3 separate regions of the Homo sapiens genome follow, and all the other regions are linked to region 3. Evidence: promoter capture Hi-C in human tissues and cell types (Jung and others, 2019). All regions are on one chromosome and are shown on one strand. The core of a region is centred on a gene start or on the middle of the fragment in contact, and the rest is flanking DNA. Distances in the headings are between cores, read along the strand shown. Region 1 overlaps RSRC2 (arginine and serine rich coiled-coil 2). Region 2 has its middle 4.7 kb from the start of HIP1R. Region 3 holds the start of SBNO1 (strawberry notch homolog 1).

Region 1 (4,575 bases), core at 64-2,563, 840 kb before region 3:
ATTCATAAGGGGGTTTAATAGAGAGAGGTAAGCCATTAAGAAAAATAAAAACTAAAGAAAATAAACAGGTTGAATTATATTTGATATGTTCCAACATGGTGAAACCCAGTCTCTACTAAAAATACAAAAATAAGCTAGGCGTGGTGGCGCACGCCTATAATCCCAGCTACTCAGGAGGCTGAGGCAGAAGAACTGCCTGAACCCAGCAGATGGAGGTTGCATTGGGCTGAGAGTGTGTCAATTTTTGTATTTTTGGTCCTGGCTCAGGTGATCTGCCTGCCTTGGCCTCCCAAAGTGCTGGCATTACAGGCTTGAGCCACCATGCCCAGCCAACAAACTAAATGTATGTGTCTTCTTATACAACAGGTCTACATATCTTATACAAATGCTGAGAGTTGTAACCACCTTTAAGAATTCATACCTGACTTTCGTTTTCTTTCTCTTGACCTTGATCGTGATCTTGAATAATGATGTTTTGAAGCTCTAGGAGAAACAGATACTTCTGACTGCTCTTTTTTCTTATCTCTATCTGGTGATGTCTTTTCTGGGGCTAGTCCATCTCGCTCTGTATCACTAGCCTAAAAGTTTAAAAACAAATGATTAAAGTTCTTAATTACATTTTAAATGTTTTCAATTTCTTAAAAGAGGGACAAAGGGAGGGAAGATAGCCCCCCACAATCAATAAATCAGAATGCCTGCTTTCCAAGTAACTAAATGTGCTTTGTACACTAATAAGGCTGAATGGCTTGAAATGACGAACCTGATACTAAAGCAAGACCTACATATTTAGACTGATGTATCTTTAATTTTCTAACGATGATTTGTATAACTTTTAAAACATGGGGTGGGGTGGGGGAGGAATAAGGGCTCCAAGTAGTTCTAATAAGCATTCAAGCAGAGAAAATAGTCCTTTTTAGATGTGTGAATGCATTTAGCTGACTTTACCAATACTTTTAAATTAGCATACATGTCAAACATCAAAAATGAGTTGTTAAAGCTTAAAGATACTCAAGACGATAAAATCTTAAAACAATGCCCTAAGAATATTATAAAATAATAAACAGAAAATTAACTTACCTAAGTGAGAACCTCATCTTAATGTCATTAACCCTCTTTAATGAAAACAGCCCCTTGGCACAGTGCTGCTGCAAAATATGGTCTGCCTCTCCTCACATGTGCTCTGGGCTATGAAAACATTAAGTTGTTTCTGCTTTAAAGCATTTTATAAGTAATTATTACAATATAAATTTTACAAGTTTCAACTAATGCAGAAGGTAGACAATGCTCGGCTATCTGACCAGAGAAGATAACATGAAAATAAAATAATTGATACACCTGGGGAATTGATTACTTAGGAAGGGTTGGCAAGCTATGGTCCTCATTCTGTTTCTGTATGGCCTTGAGCTAGGAATGGTTTTTTACGTTTTTTAAAACTATTTTAGGCATATTTAATAAATAACTTCAGTAAATAGCACTGTAAAGACTGAACTGTTAAAACTAAAGGCACTTAAAACGCCAGTGTTGTGGCTCATGCCTGTAATCCTAGCACTTTGGGAGGTTGAGGCAGGCGGATAACCTGAGGTCAGGAGTTTGAGACCAGCCTAGCCAACATGGTAAAACCCTGCTTCTACTAAAAACACAAAAATTAGCCAAGAGTGGTGGGGCGTGCCTGTAATCCCAGCAACTCAGGAGGTTGAGACAGGAGAATGGCTTGAACCCATGAGGCAGACGTTGAAGTGAGCTAAGATTGCGCCACTGCCCCTCCAGCCTGGGAAAGAATGTGACAGAGACTGCACATGGCCCACAAAGCCAAAAATATTTACCGTCTGGCCCTTTACAGAAACAGTTTATGGACTTTTCACGTATAACATCAAACGGAATCTGGATTGAATAAATAGGGAATCGATAGTCTTCAGCAGGAGGAATCACATTAGAGAACTTCCTCCTTTAGGAAAGTTAGTCCAGAAAATGAATACCAAATATCAAGTACAATAAATGGGGGTATTGTATTTTAACAAATTTTAAACAAGTATCAAGTACAATAAATGGGTGTATTGTACTTTAATAAATGAAGTTGTGAGAGGTCGAGTTACTTCAACAAGTATTTACTAAGGGTCAAAAATGTGCCAAAACCAATGCTAGACTTAGGGAATAAAATGATAAATTAAAAACAGAAAGGTTTTGCAGTTCAATTATGAGATGAAAGACATAAATTACGTGTTATTCCTCTAACAATGGCACAAAAAGAACAGTAAGAAATTAACTACCAGGGAGGCTCTCATGCCAGCATATTGTATATGTACTTATTTCTCCAGTCTGGGTGACTTCTGGAACCATAAAATTTTTATGCTGAAAGGTTTTCACCCCTTAGAATAGAGTTCAACTTTCTCGTTTCACAGATGAGATCCAGCAACATTAGCTGACTTGCTTAAAATGATACTGCATCTCCGTATCTTTACTGTTTACTACTAATAAATAATGCTGTATCATTAAGGATGATTCTGATTTTTCACAATGAATTCTGGACACTTTTTTTTTTCATCGTTATCCTTGAGGACTATTTCAGACTCATTTATTACTTGCTGAGTGTTTGTACAGCTTACACTTGGTAAACAGAAGTGATCTCGAAAATTTTAAGCACCGCTATTACTTCTCTCAGTTGCACGACACTTTTGCCAGAGACAGAATTCCTTAACTAGTGGCAAATCCCATTTACTTTTGCAGAGAACAAGACTAGAATCGAAAACAACCTTCTCATGGAAAATCTAGTGCTTAGCCTAGGCAGTTTTCAGGCAATGGTTTATCTAACTTTAACTTCATGCTTAACATCACAAAGCTGGACAACAGAGAAACCTCCCTGTGACATAGGCTAACTTAAACTTACATCATCAACCATTTTCATCTGTAAAATATACTACAGAGCAACAACAAAAACCATCTTAACACTAAACAAATAGGAATGATAGGTGGTCATTGAGGCCATGGAAAACTTTTATTTCCCTGAGGATATTTTATAGTAGCATAATACAGGTATCCAGGAAAAAAACCTACCAAAAACTGAGTATTAAAATTGCTCTGAAATTTTCTAAGCTTTAATTTAGTACTAATCTATGTGTACACATAAACGTTAACTGCAAAACAGCCTTCTATTCCAGCAGTGGCTCTACGAGGTAGCCACTTTGGTTTCTTATAATTTACATTTTGTTGCAAACTCTAATAACGGCTCGAAACATAGACAAATCTTTTTCCACTGCGAAGGAGGTAAGCACTGGATTGAATACTAGGTCACTTCTCTAGGGGACTGTCTTTTTATTGAACAAGGCACGGCATAAATAAATGTTTAAATTCACTTTTTAAAATACTAGAACCCGGCCGGGCGCGGTGGCTCACTCCTGTAATCCCAGCACTTTGGGAGGCCGAGGCGGGTGGATCATCTGAGGTCAGGAGTTCGAGACCAGCCTGGCCGACGTGGTGAAACCCCGTCTCTACCAAAAATATAAAAAAATTAGCCGGGTGTGGTGGTGGGCGCCTGTAATCCCAGCTACTCGGGAGTCTGAGGCAGGAGAATCGCTTGAACCCGGGAGGCGGAGGTTGCAGTGAGCCAAGATCGCGCCATCGCACTCCAGCCTGGGCGACAAGAGCAAAACTCCGTCTCGAAAAAATACAAAAAAACCTGCAACCCAAGAAAAATAGTATTACTCTTTAAGTATACTGAGGCCCAAAACACTAAACAAAGGAAGACAGTAAAAGAAACGGGTTTAAACTCAATCACCTAAATAATAGAGGGGTATGGGGGAAAAAGAAAATCATCTGCCTAATCCCAGGCATTCCAATCGTTAGGAAGAGCAAACTTTAAAACTATCACTATGTTTAAGAGTCATAATTATTATCGAAAATGATGTAATTTTTTAGTCAGTAAAAAGGAATGCAAAATCTTTACATTTTCCTTTTAACGGAATAAAAATGAGGTAAGCACAAAATAATGTGGATCCGTCAGAATTGGGTATCTTATACACACGCAGGCTTATTGTTCAGAATAGATAATTTACGAACTGTAGCTCCTCTGGGGTCAACGAAGAGTTTTTTTTTTTTTTTTTTTTTTTTTTTTTTTTTTTTTTGAGACGGAGTCTCGCTCTGTCACCCAGGCTGGAGTGCAGTGGCGGGATCTCGGTTCACTGCAAGCTCCGCCTCCCGGGTTCACGCCATTCTCCTGCCTCAGCCTCCCAAGTAGCTGGGACTACAGGCGTCCGCCACTACGCCCGGCTAATTTTTTTGTATTTTTAGTAGAGACAGGGTTTCACCGTTTTAGCCGGGATGGTCTCGATCTCCTGACCTCGTGATCCGCCCGCCTCGGCCTCCCAAAGTGCTGGGATTACAGGCGTGAGCCACCGCGCCCGGCCAACGAAGGGTTTAAATTTAAAGGAACAAGGTCAGTGACAAGACTTAACTGTAACGCTTCTCGGACTTCAAATTGATTACATCACGGGCCACTTCGGAAACCGCGCATCAGTCAGAATTGGTAGTTCCACAACCTTTTAAGTTGAATTTTCACTCCCTTTCAGCAATACCTTCCTA
Region 2 (4,298 bases), core at 277-2,776, 530 kb before region 3:
GAGACCGAGTCTCACTCTGTTGCCCAGGCTGGAGTGCAGTGGCTCAATTCCAGCTCACTGCAACCTCCACCTCCCGAGTTCAAGCAATTCTCCTGCCTCAGTCTCCTGAGAAGCTAGGATTACAGGTGCCCACCACCACTCCTGGCTAACTTTTTGTTTTTTTAGTAGAGACGGGGTTTCGTCATGTTGGCCAGGCTGGTGTTGAACTCCTGGCCTAATGTGATCCTCCCAACTCAGCCTCCCAAAGTGCTGGGATTACAGGCGTGAGCCACCACATTTCTTTATCCACTCATCTGTTGATGGGCATTTAGGTTGCTTCCACATCTTGGCTGTTGTGAGCAGTGCTGCAGTGAACGTGGAGTGCAGATACCCCTGACCTAAGCTTTGAGCAATTTCTGTTAGAGAGGCAGTCTCCTTTTTTTTTCTATACTTTAATGGATGCACAGAGGCAGTCTCATAGAGTATTTGAAATAGTTACAAGATAAAACTAGATTTTAGCATTTATGTCTTATCAGCAACATTCTTAAGATCAACACATCTGAAGAGGAGGCAAATGAATTATACTACAATCTGCCTGCCAGAAGTAATCTCAGCATTGGAAAAGACTGATATAAGGGTATTTTTAGAATCTGTGAATGGATTTTTTTTTTAATTTTATTTTTAGTGACAGGGTCTCACTCTGTCACCCAGCCTGGAGGGCAGTGGTATCATCATAGCTCACTGTAGCCTCAAACTCTTGGGCTCAAGTGATTCTCCTGCTTCAGCCTCCCAATTAGCGAGGACTCCAGGCACGTGCCACCATGCCTAATTTTTTTTTCTTTAGATGGAGTCTCACTCTGTCACCCAGGCTGAAGTGCGGTGGCACGATGTCAGCTCACTGCAACCTCCATCTCCCAGATTCAAGAGATTCTTCTGCCTCCCGAATAGCTGGGATTACAGGCACCTGCCACCATGCCAGGCTAATTTTTGTATTTTTAGTAGAGACGGGGTTTCACCATGTTGGCCAGGCTGGTCTCGAACTCCTGACCTCAGGTGATCCGCCCACCTCAGCCTCCCAAAGTGCTGGGGTTACAGGTGTGAGCCCCCGCGCCCGGCCAACAGATATTTAAAAACAGAAATAGAAATACCCCCAAAGAAAAAAAGTTCTGAATTAAGATAAAACATAAACACTAAAAGCAGCTTTACCCCAAAAGTGCCAAGAGAATGCGTCTAGAACTTCTTGGCTGTGTGGGATAAGGTTGGCTCCATACCTTCCAGGAAGGAGACTGAAGACTGAATCCTTGTTATGGTCTGGCAAACTGATCCTGGAGTTTTCTCCTGTGGCTTTGTGTGGTTTGACACCTGTAGCTGGGGTGGTGGGTTTGCAGTGTTGTACTTTTGTTTCTCTTGAGCCATTTGATGATGATTTTGTTAGGACACATTGCAGGAAAGTTCATTATTCTAGGCCTTCAACAGAATAATCTTAGCAACCTCCAGTGTGATAGAGAACAGAGTGAACAGGATCAAAATAAGAAACCAGACACATTCATCAAGACTGCAGCTGACAAGGAGGTTTAAAAACCAGAATGGGGCCAGGTGCAGTGGCCCACGCGTGTAATCCCAGCACTTAGAGAGGCCAAAGCTCGCACATCATTTGAGATCAGGAGTTCGAGACCAGCCTGGCCAACATGGCGAAACACCTCTCTACTAAAAATACAAAAATTAGCTGGGCGTGGTGGTGGGTGCCTGTAATCCCAGCTACTCAGGAGGCTGAGGCACAAGAATCACTTCAACCTGGGAGGCAGAGGTTGCAGTGTGCTGAGATTGAGCCATGCCTCCAGCCTGGGCAACAGAGCCAGACTCTGTCTCAAACAAACAAACAAACAAACAAAAAACACCCAGAATGGTCTTTGAGAGAAGTTGATTGAATGAAAAGTGTACATGAATCAGTTCTTTAAAGGATGATGTCTGGGTTCTCAGCCAGATGCATGCTTAAGAAACCCAACCACAACAACAACAAAAAGAAACCCAACAAAAAATCAAAGAATTTTGAGCACACAGTAGGTGCTTTGCTGGCCACTGGAGACACAACAATGAGCAAAGCAGACAATCTAGTCGTAGAAACACACTAATCTAAGAATCCCATACATAGTTCACAAGAGACTGGTTAGTGCTACAAAAGAAAGCTTTGAGATATGATGACAGCTTATAATAGGGACTCAGGTGAAGGGTGGAGTGTTAAGAGAATGCTTCCTTAAAGAAGTGACATCTGAGCCAAGAGTTAAAGACAAGTGGATGCTAAGTAGGGCGAACGGGAAGCAGAAGAGAATTCCAGGCAGTAGGAACAGCATGTGCAAAGGCTCTGAGGTGGGAGGGAACATGACGCATCTGGGACCTGATGGGCCAGGATGGTGCAAGATGAAGCCAGGGACAGAGGCTGGGGCCAGATCATGCATACGAGTCGATGAGTCAGTGTGGGTGTGGTAGCATACCATGTTTTAGTGGGCCAGATGATGTAAACTCTCCTGTGCATCTTGGATTTTCCTTAAAACGAGGTCTTATTTGTATTCCAATTGCTTTGCTTTTGTAATAGGGGTGAGCAGGAATTCAACAGCCCTCGAGATACACCAAAACAGAACCCTGATTCTGATGGCATGAAGAATCTCAGGCCGGGAGCAGTGGCTCCTGCCTGTAATGCCAGCACTTTGGGAGGCTAAGGTGGGAGGATTGCTTGAGTCCAGGAGTTCAAGACCAGTCTGGGCAACGTGGTGAGACCCCCGTCTCTACAAAAAATTTAAAAATTAGCCAGGCATGGTGGTGCACACCTGTGGTCCCAGCTATTCTGGAGGCTGAGGTGGGAGGATCATTTGAGCCCAGGAGGTTGAGGCTGCAATGAGCCATAATCCAGCCACTGCACTCCAGCAGGGGTAACAGAGCAAGCAAGACCCCGTATCCCCCCCGCCAAAAAAAAAGCCAGTCAGTGACAGGGACAATAGTAGACCAGGCCTCCTGCCTGAAGATGTTAGAGAGATGAACCAGAAAAATTAAGAGTGGGGAAGTTTGGGCCAGGCACAGTGGCTCACGCCTGTAATCCCAACACTTTGGGAGGTCGAGGCAGGTGGATCACCTGAGGTTGGGAGTTCAAGACCAGCTTGACCAACATGGTGAAACCCTGTCTCTACAAAAAATACAAAAATTAGCCAGGCTGTGGTGGCGCACGCCTGTAATCTCAGCTACTCAGGAGGCTGAGGCAGGAGAATTGCTGGAACCCAGGAAGCGAAGGTTGCTGTGAGCTGAGATCATGCCACTGCACTCCAGCCTGGGTGACAGAGGGCAACCCTGTCTCAAAAACAAAAACAAACAAACAAAAGATTGGGGAAGTTTGTATCCTTATGTCCTCAGTGATACTCTTTCGTGAGATCAGCTGTATGTTGAAGTATACCAAATGAGGTATTTGTTTACTCACTCTTTCAGCCCTTCATTTGACATACATATTGAACATTGCTATGTGCCAGGTGCCCTGCTAGGCACTGAGTACATAAAACTGAGTAATACAGGGTGGCCCTCTAATAGCTCAAAATCTTACCTACAAGCACATAAAGTACAATCCCTTAGAGATGTGTTAGGAGAGTGCTCTCAGGTCCTAAACAGCAAGCCTGAGGTAGTATAGTACTGAAAGTCATAGACCACAAAATGTAGTCCAAATGGCATGGGTGTTGCGGGCACTGGCCTTGAAATCAGGCACATCTGGGTCTGGATCCCGAATGCAGCGTTTACCAGTTGTGTGAACCTGGGCTAAACTCTCTGAACCTGAGCTTGTTTGTTGGTCTGTAAAAAATACCATCAAGAGGCCAGGTGCAGTGGCTTCGGCCTGTAATCCCAGTACTTTCAAGGTGGGCGAATTCACTTGAGCCCGGGAATTTGAGACCAGCCTGGACAACTTAGCAAGACTCTGTCTCTACAAAAAAACTTTAAAAATTAGCTGGGCATGGCCAGGCGCAGTGGCTCATGCCTGTAATCCCAGGACTTTGGGAAGCCGAGGTGGGTAGATCACGAGGTCAAGAGATCGAGACCATCCTGGCCAACATGGTGAAACTCTGTCTCTACTAAAAATACAAAAATTAGCTGGGCGTGGTGGCGGGCGCCTGTAGTCCCAGCTACTTGGGAGGCTGAGGCAGGAGAATTGCTTGAACCCGGGAGGCAGAGGTTGCAGTGAGCCAAGATCGTGCCACTGCACTCCAGCCTGGTGGCAGAGTGAGACTCCATCTCAAAAAAAAAAAAAAATTAGCTGGGCATGATAGTGCATCCCTCCAGTTCCA
Region 3 (4,375 bases), core at 1,614-4,113:
CGAAAATTAGCCGGGCATGGTGGCACGCGCCTGTAGTCCCAGCTATTTGGGAGGCTGAGGCAGAATAACCGTTTTAACCCAGGAGGCAGAGGAATGCAGTGAGCCAAGGTTATGACACCGCACTCCAGCCTGGGCGAGAGAGCGAGACTCCACCTCAAAAAAAAAAGATTCTGTTGGGCGTGGTGGCTCACGCCTGCAATCCCAGCACTTTGGGAGGCCGAGGCAAGCGGATCACGAGGTCAGGAGATCGAGACTATCCTGGCTAACATGGTGAAACCCCGTCTCTACTAAAAGTACAAAAAATTAGCCGGGCGTGGCAGCGGGCACCTGTAATCCCAGCTACTTGGGAGGCTGAGGCAGGAGAATGGCGTGAACCCGGGAGGCGGAGCTTGCAGTGAGCAGAGATCGTGCCACTGCACTCCAGCCTGGGCCACTGAGCGAGACTCCGTCTCAAAAAAAAAAAAAAAAAAAAAAAAAAAAAAAAAGGATTCTGACGGGGGGGCCAAGGGCGGTGGCTCACGGCTGTAATTCCAGCACTCCGGGAGACAGAGGTGAGTGGATCACTTGAGGTCACTAGTGTGAGACCAGCCTGGCCGACATGGTGAAACCCCTTTCTGCCAACTACATAAAAAAAAATTAGCCAGGTGTGGTGGCACATGCCTGCAATCCCAGCTACTAGGGAGACTGAGGCAGGAGAATTGTTTGAACCCTGAAGGCAGAGGTTGCAGTGAGCCGAGTTCATACCACTACACTCCAGCCTGGGCAACACAGCAAGACTCCGCCTCAAAAAAAAAAAAAAAAAAAAAAAAGATTCTGAAGGGGCCAGGCACAATGGCTCATGCCTGTAATCCCACCACTTCGGGAAGCGGAGGCCAGAAGATTGCTTGAGGCCAGTAGCTGCCTCCCAACATGGTGAGACCCCCGCCTCTCAACAAAAAAATTAAAAAAAAAAAAATTAGCTGCTGTAGTGGTGCACATCTGTAGTCCCAGCTACTCCGGAGGCTGAAGTGGGACGATCGCTTGAGCCCAGGAGTTCAAGCTGCAGTGAGCTATGACCACGTCACTGCACTTCAGCTTGAGCAACAGAGTGGGACCCTGTCTCAAAAATTTAAAAATAGCATAAATATTCCAAACGCAATTATATGGAATAAGTTGGAATGGAAGATAAAAAGCAGAAGCCAGAGAAAAAAAGTAAAGTCGTCTCCCATCGGAAAAATTTTGGAAACAACTTCTTTAAAAGATGAGAGAAAATGTTCCCTTGCTTGCAAAATTAATGTCCCACTCAAGTCACCAGTAGGAAATTCTGCTATCTTCTGTGCAACGATGATAGCTTTCCCTACGCTTATGAAAATCAATTCTGATTGCTAGAAAATATGGTGGAAAATAGAATCCCTCTGTACTGTCAGCTCGCAGAATTATCTGAAAGTGTTAAGTCAATTCCTGCTAGGGCACTCCGGATGACAGTTCTCTGCACCCTTCTGGATGACTCTTTAGAAACCATATTCCATCCCTAATTCTGGCTGTCTAGAATATATGAAACATTTAACTCAACATAAAATGATAATAGCCAACTTTCAAAGGTCAAAGGGGACCAGTTTATAACCTTCCCTCAACACGTGTTCAGTACAAACTTCCGGGTGCACTTACAATTGGCTGCGCAATTCAATGGATAAAAACGTTGCTTTATTTGTCTCTCATTTTCTGGCCCGTTCTTTTCCCACGTTTCTCAACCAGCGACTCCCCAAAACAAAAGCCTCCCACAGTAAACCGAGCACGCACATAAAAAGAGCTTCTCTGTGCGAGGATCAAGTTAGTGGTCCGCAAACATTAACCAAACAGAAGCACAAAGCAGGGGTGGGAAGGGGAGGAGCTGGATGCCAGGGTCAGGAAAGAAACAATCAGAAGGGTTTAGGAACATCCAAATCTCCTCAGCGGTTAAACCGACCCCAAACCACTTCTGGGAAACCACCGGTATCCACTGCTTTGGGGAACTCTGGATGCTCGTTATGCCAAACGCTCTCAAAGTAAGCAAATCCCCAACTGCCGTTCCCCTCCATGGGTAATTCTTAGGGTCTGGGAGGTGAGCTCGCCCGCCGAGGCAGAACTAAGCGAGTCGCCTGGAGAGGCGTGAAGGGAGCCTGCACGTGTCCCCCGCGGCTTCCCCACCGCCCCAAGAGCGGGGCATGTACGAGACCGCGCTGTGGGGTTCAGATTTAGGAAGGACGACCGCGTCGCCTGCCTCCCTCCCTCGCCCAGAGCCGGGAGCAATGCTGGGGCACGAAAGAGGACTTGGGAAGGATCCGGTCCTTACTTTCCCCGCGGGTCCCGGACCCGCAGCCCCCGGGTTGTGAGGCGGAAGCCAAAGGGGCGAACCCAGCGGAGCCGGCGTGCACAGACCCTGCCCCGCGGTCCAAGAGGGGTGCCTCCGGCCCGGGACAGCGGGGCTCCCGGAGCCCGAAAGCCCCACGAGCGGCGACAGCGGGGCCCGGCGCTGACGAACAGAGGAAGCGAGTACAACGGAGCCGCCGTCGGGAACATGCCCCCGAGGGCCCCGGAGCGCGCGGCCGCGAGGAGCGGCAAGCGGCGAGGGAGGCCCCAAGCCGGGGCGAGGTGGCTGTCCCCCCAGCCTGGCCCCGCACGGCCCCCCGAGGGTGGGAGTGGGAGGCTGTCCGGGAGGGGGAGTGTGGAAGGAGAAAAGGGCCAAGGGAAGGACTTACTTTCCCCGCGGGACCCGGCGCCAGCACAGCTCCTCCCGGGAGGTGTGAGTTTGAAGGACCAGAGGCGACTGGAGCGGAGGCGGCGGTGGCGGCGGCAGCAGCGGCGTCCTGCTCTGCCTACCTCCCCGCCGCCATCTTGACGCCCCTCCCCCAGCCCCCCCGCCCCGCCGGGAGGGGCGGGGGAGGGGCAACGGATGAGGCGCCGCGCGCACGCAGCGCCCTCACGTGACTTCCTCCCTCCTCCCCCACCCGCCTCTCTGCGCCCCTCTCCGCCCCGCCTCCCTCCTAGGTGAAGGAAGATGATTTCCCCCCCATCTTGACCACCCCCCAGTCTTCGCCGCCAAAAACGGACTCCGCCGGCTATCCTCGGCCCGGTACCAGTTGTTGGATCCAAGAGAATTCCGGAACCCAAACGGTCCATTACCGCGGCTCTGGGGTGGGCGAGGGGTGAGGGGGCCGGGTTTCCGCGAAGGGGGAGGGGGAAGGCGAAGGCCACCTAGGAGAGTCACGTGACTACTGTTTCCGCCGGCGCTCACGGAGAGCTCGCGGTAATTCCGTTTCCCCGCCCTTTTTTCCCCGCGGCCTGTCGGGAAGAAGGTCCGCGTGCCAGGGCTATCGGGAGGTCGGCCGGAGGGCCGCGCGCATGCGCCCCGCGCCTGCTTTCAAACTCCGGTTAGGAAGGGCCTGGAGCTATTTTCAGAACCTGTTAGGGTGGGGAGCTACGGCCCAGGAAGTTACCTAGCAGCGTTTCTGTCACTTGGAAGATCTCTTCATTACCTAGTTAGTCCTAGAAACAAAATGTTTACATATTCATTGCTTGTTAGGCTCGCTCAAAGCACTTTATTGGCAGTGAAACCGCAAGTAACCCGGAGCCCTCGGCGCGACCACGGCTAGAATCAGAGCCTAAGGCGTGTGAGCTCAGCCATCCCACGTCTGTCTTCACGCTCATACGCAAGCCCGACACACCGGGGCTCCCACTTAATGAATACTGAAGAGTAGGGCTGTCCCTACCGCTTCTCACTTCCTTGTTTTCATCTTTTCGTTATTATTAAGCGACCTAACACAATAAACATATTACCTTGTTGGTAACCCTTTTGTAAAGTCATTCTGAAAGTGCTGTTTGACTCCGTTGCTTGGGTAATAAGCACGCCTGGGTGATTCTTGCCCCCTACTGGCTGCGCATCCTACAAGCCTAGTGCTGAAAGCAAACCAAGTAGCTGGAACAGTTGGAGGTTACAGTGTGAACTCTTCCAGAGACAAAGTATTCGGGGAAAGAAAGGAAAAAGTAGGCACAGAAAGAATAGGAAACTTCAGTGTTTGTACACATAGATATGTATTATATATCTATGTATACATTTATAAATATTTTTAAAGTGCTAACTAATCGCTTTACTAATTACATTATTTCATTTAATCCTCTCACACACATAGAAAAAAAACCTATAAAGACAAAAATAAAAAATATTTTAGGCCGGGCGCAGTGGCTCACGCCTGTAATCCCAGCACTTCGGGAGGCCGAGGTGGGCGGACCACCTGAGGTCAGGAGTTCGAGACCAGCCTGGCCAACATGGTGAAACCCCATCTCTGCTAAAAATACAAAATTTAGCTGGGGCTTGGTGGCGGGCACCTGTAATCCCAGCTACTCTGGAGGCTGAGGC

Evidence for each region. The method cuts DNA at HindIII sites, captures the fragments that hold promoters and counts their contacts. A contact is called where the count stands out against the background at its distance.
Region 1: a fragment that was not itself captured here is called in contact with the fragment with the promoter of SBNO1 in region 3 in 1 of the 25 tissues and cell types used here (dorsolateral prefrontal cortex).
Region 2: a contact is called between a fragment that was not itself captured here and the fragment with the promoter of SBNO1 in region 3, in 1 of the 25 tissues and cell types used here (dorsolateral prefrontal cortex).

Annotation. Positions count from the first base shown.
Region 1 is chr12:122,521,722-122,526,296 of GRCh38, forward strand. It overlaps RSRC2 (arginine and serine rich coiled-coil 2), which reads right to left. Exons shown (of 10, transcript NM_023012.6): 2 at 422-578. Among named protein-coding and RNA genes, the nearest start is that of RSRC2, 2.9 kb to the right of the region's middle. The HindIII fragment of the contact is 5,664 bases long and covers 1-4,145 here.
Region 2 is chr12:122,828,636-122,832,933 of GRCh38, forward strand. No RefSeq gene overlaps it. Among named protein-coding and RNA genes, the nearest start is that of HIP1R, 4.7 kb to the right of the region's middle. RefSeq lists a silencer at 1,053-1,253. The HindIII fragment of the contact is 4,270 bases long and covers 1-3,661 here.
Region 3 is chr12:123,361,984-123,366,358 of GRCh38, forward strand. It overlaps SBNO1 (strawberry notch homolog 1), which reads right to left and starts at 2,864. Exons shown (of 32, transcript NM_001167856.3): 1 at 2,718-2,864. It overlaps MIR8072 (microRNA 8072), which reads right to left and starts at 2,860; the gene lies at 2,781-2,860. It overlaps SBNO1-AS1 (SBNO1 antisense RNA 1), which reads left to right and starts at 2,965. Exons shown (of 2, transcript NR_157806.1): 1 at 2,965-3,132; 2 at 3,542-3,821. RefSeq lists enhancers at 1,530-2,248, 1,905-1,954, 3,415-3,624 and silencers at 2,435-2,544, 2,585-2,664, 2,775-3,014, 3,145-3,244. The HindIII fragment of the contact is 18,176 bases long and covers 1-4,375 here.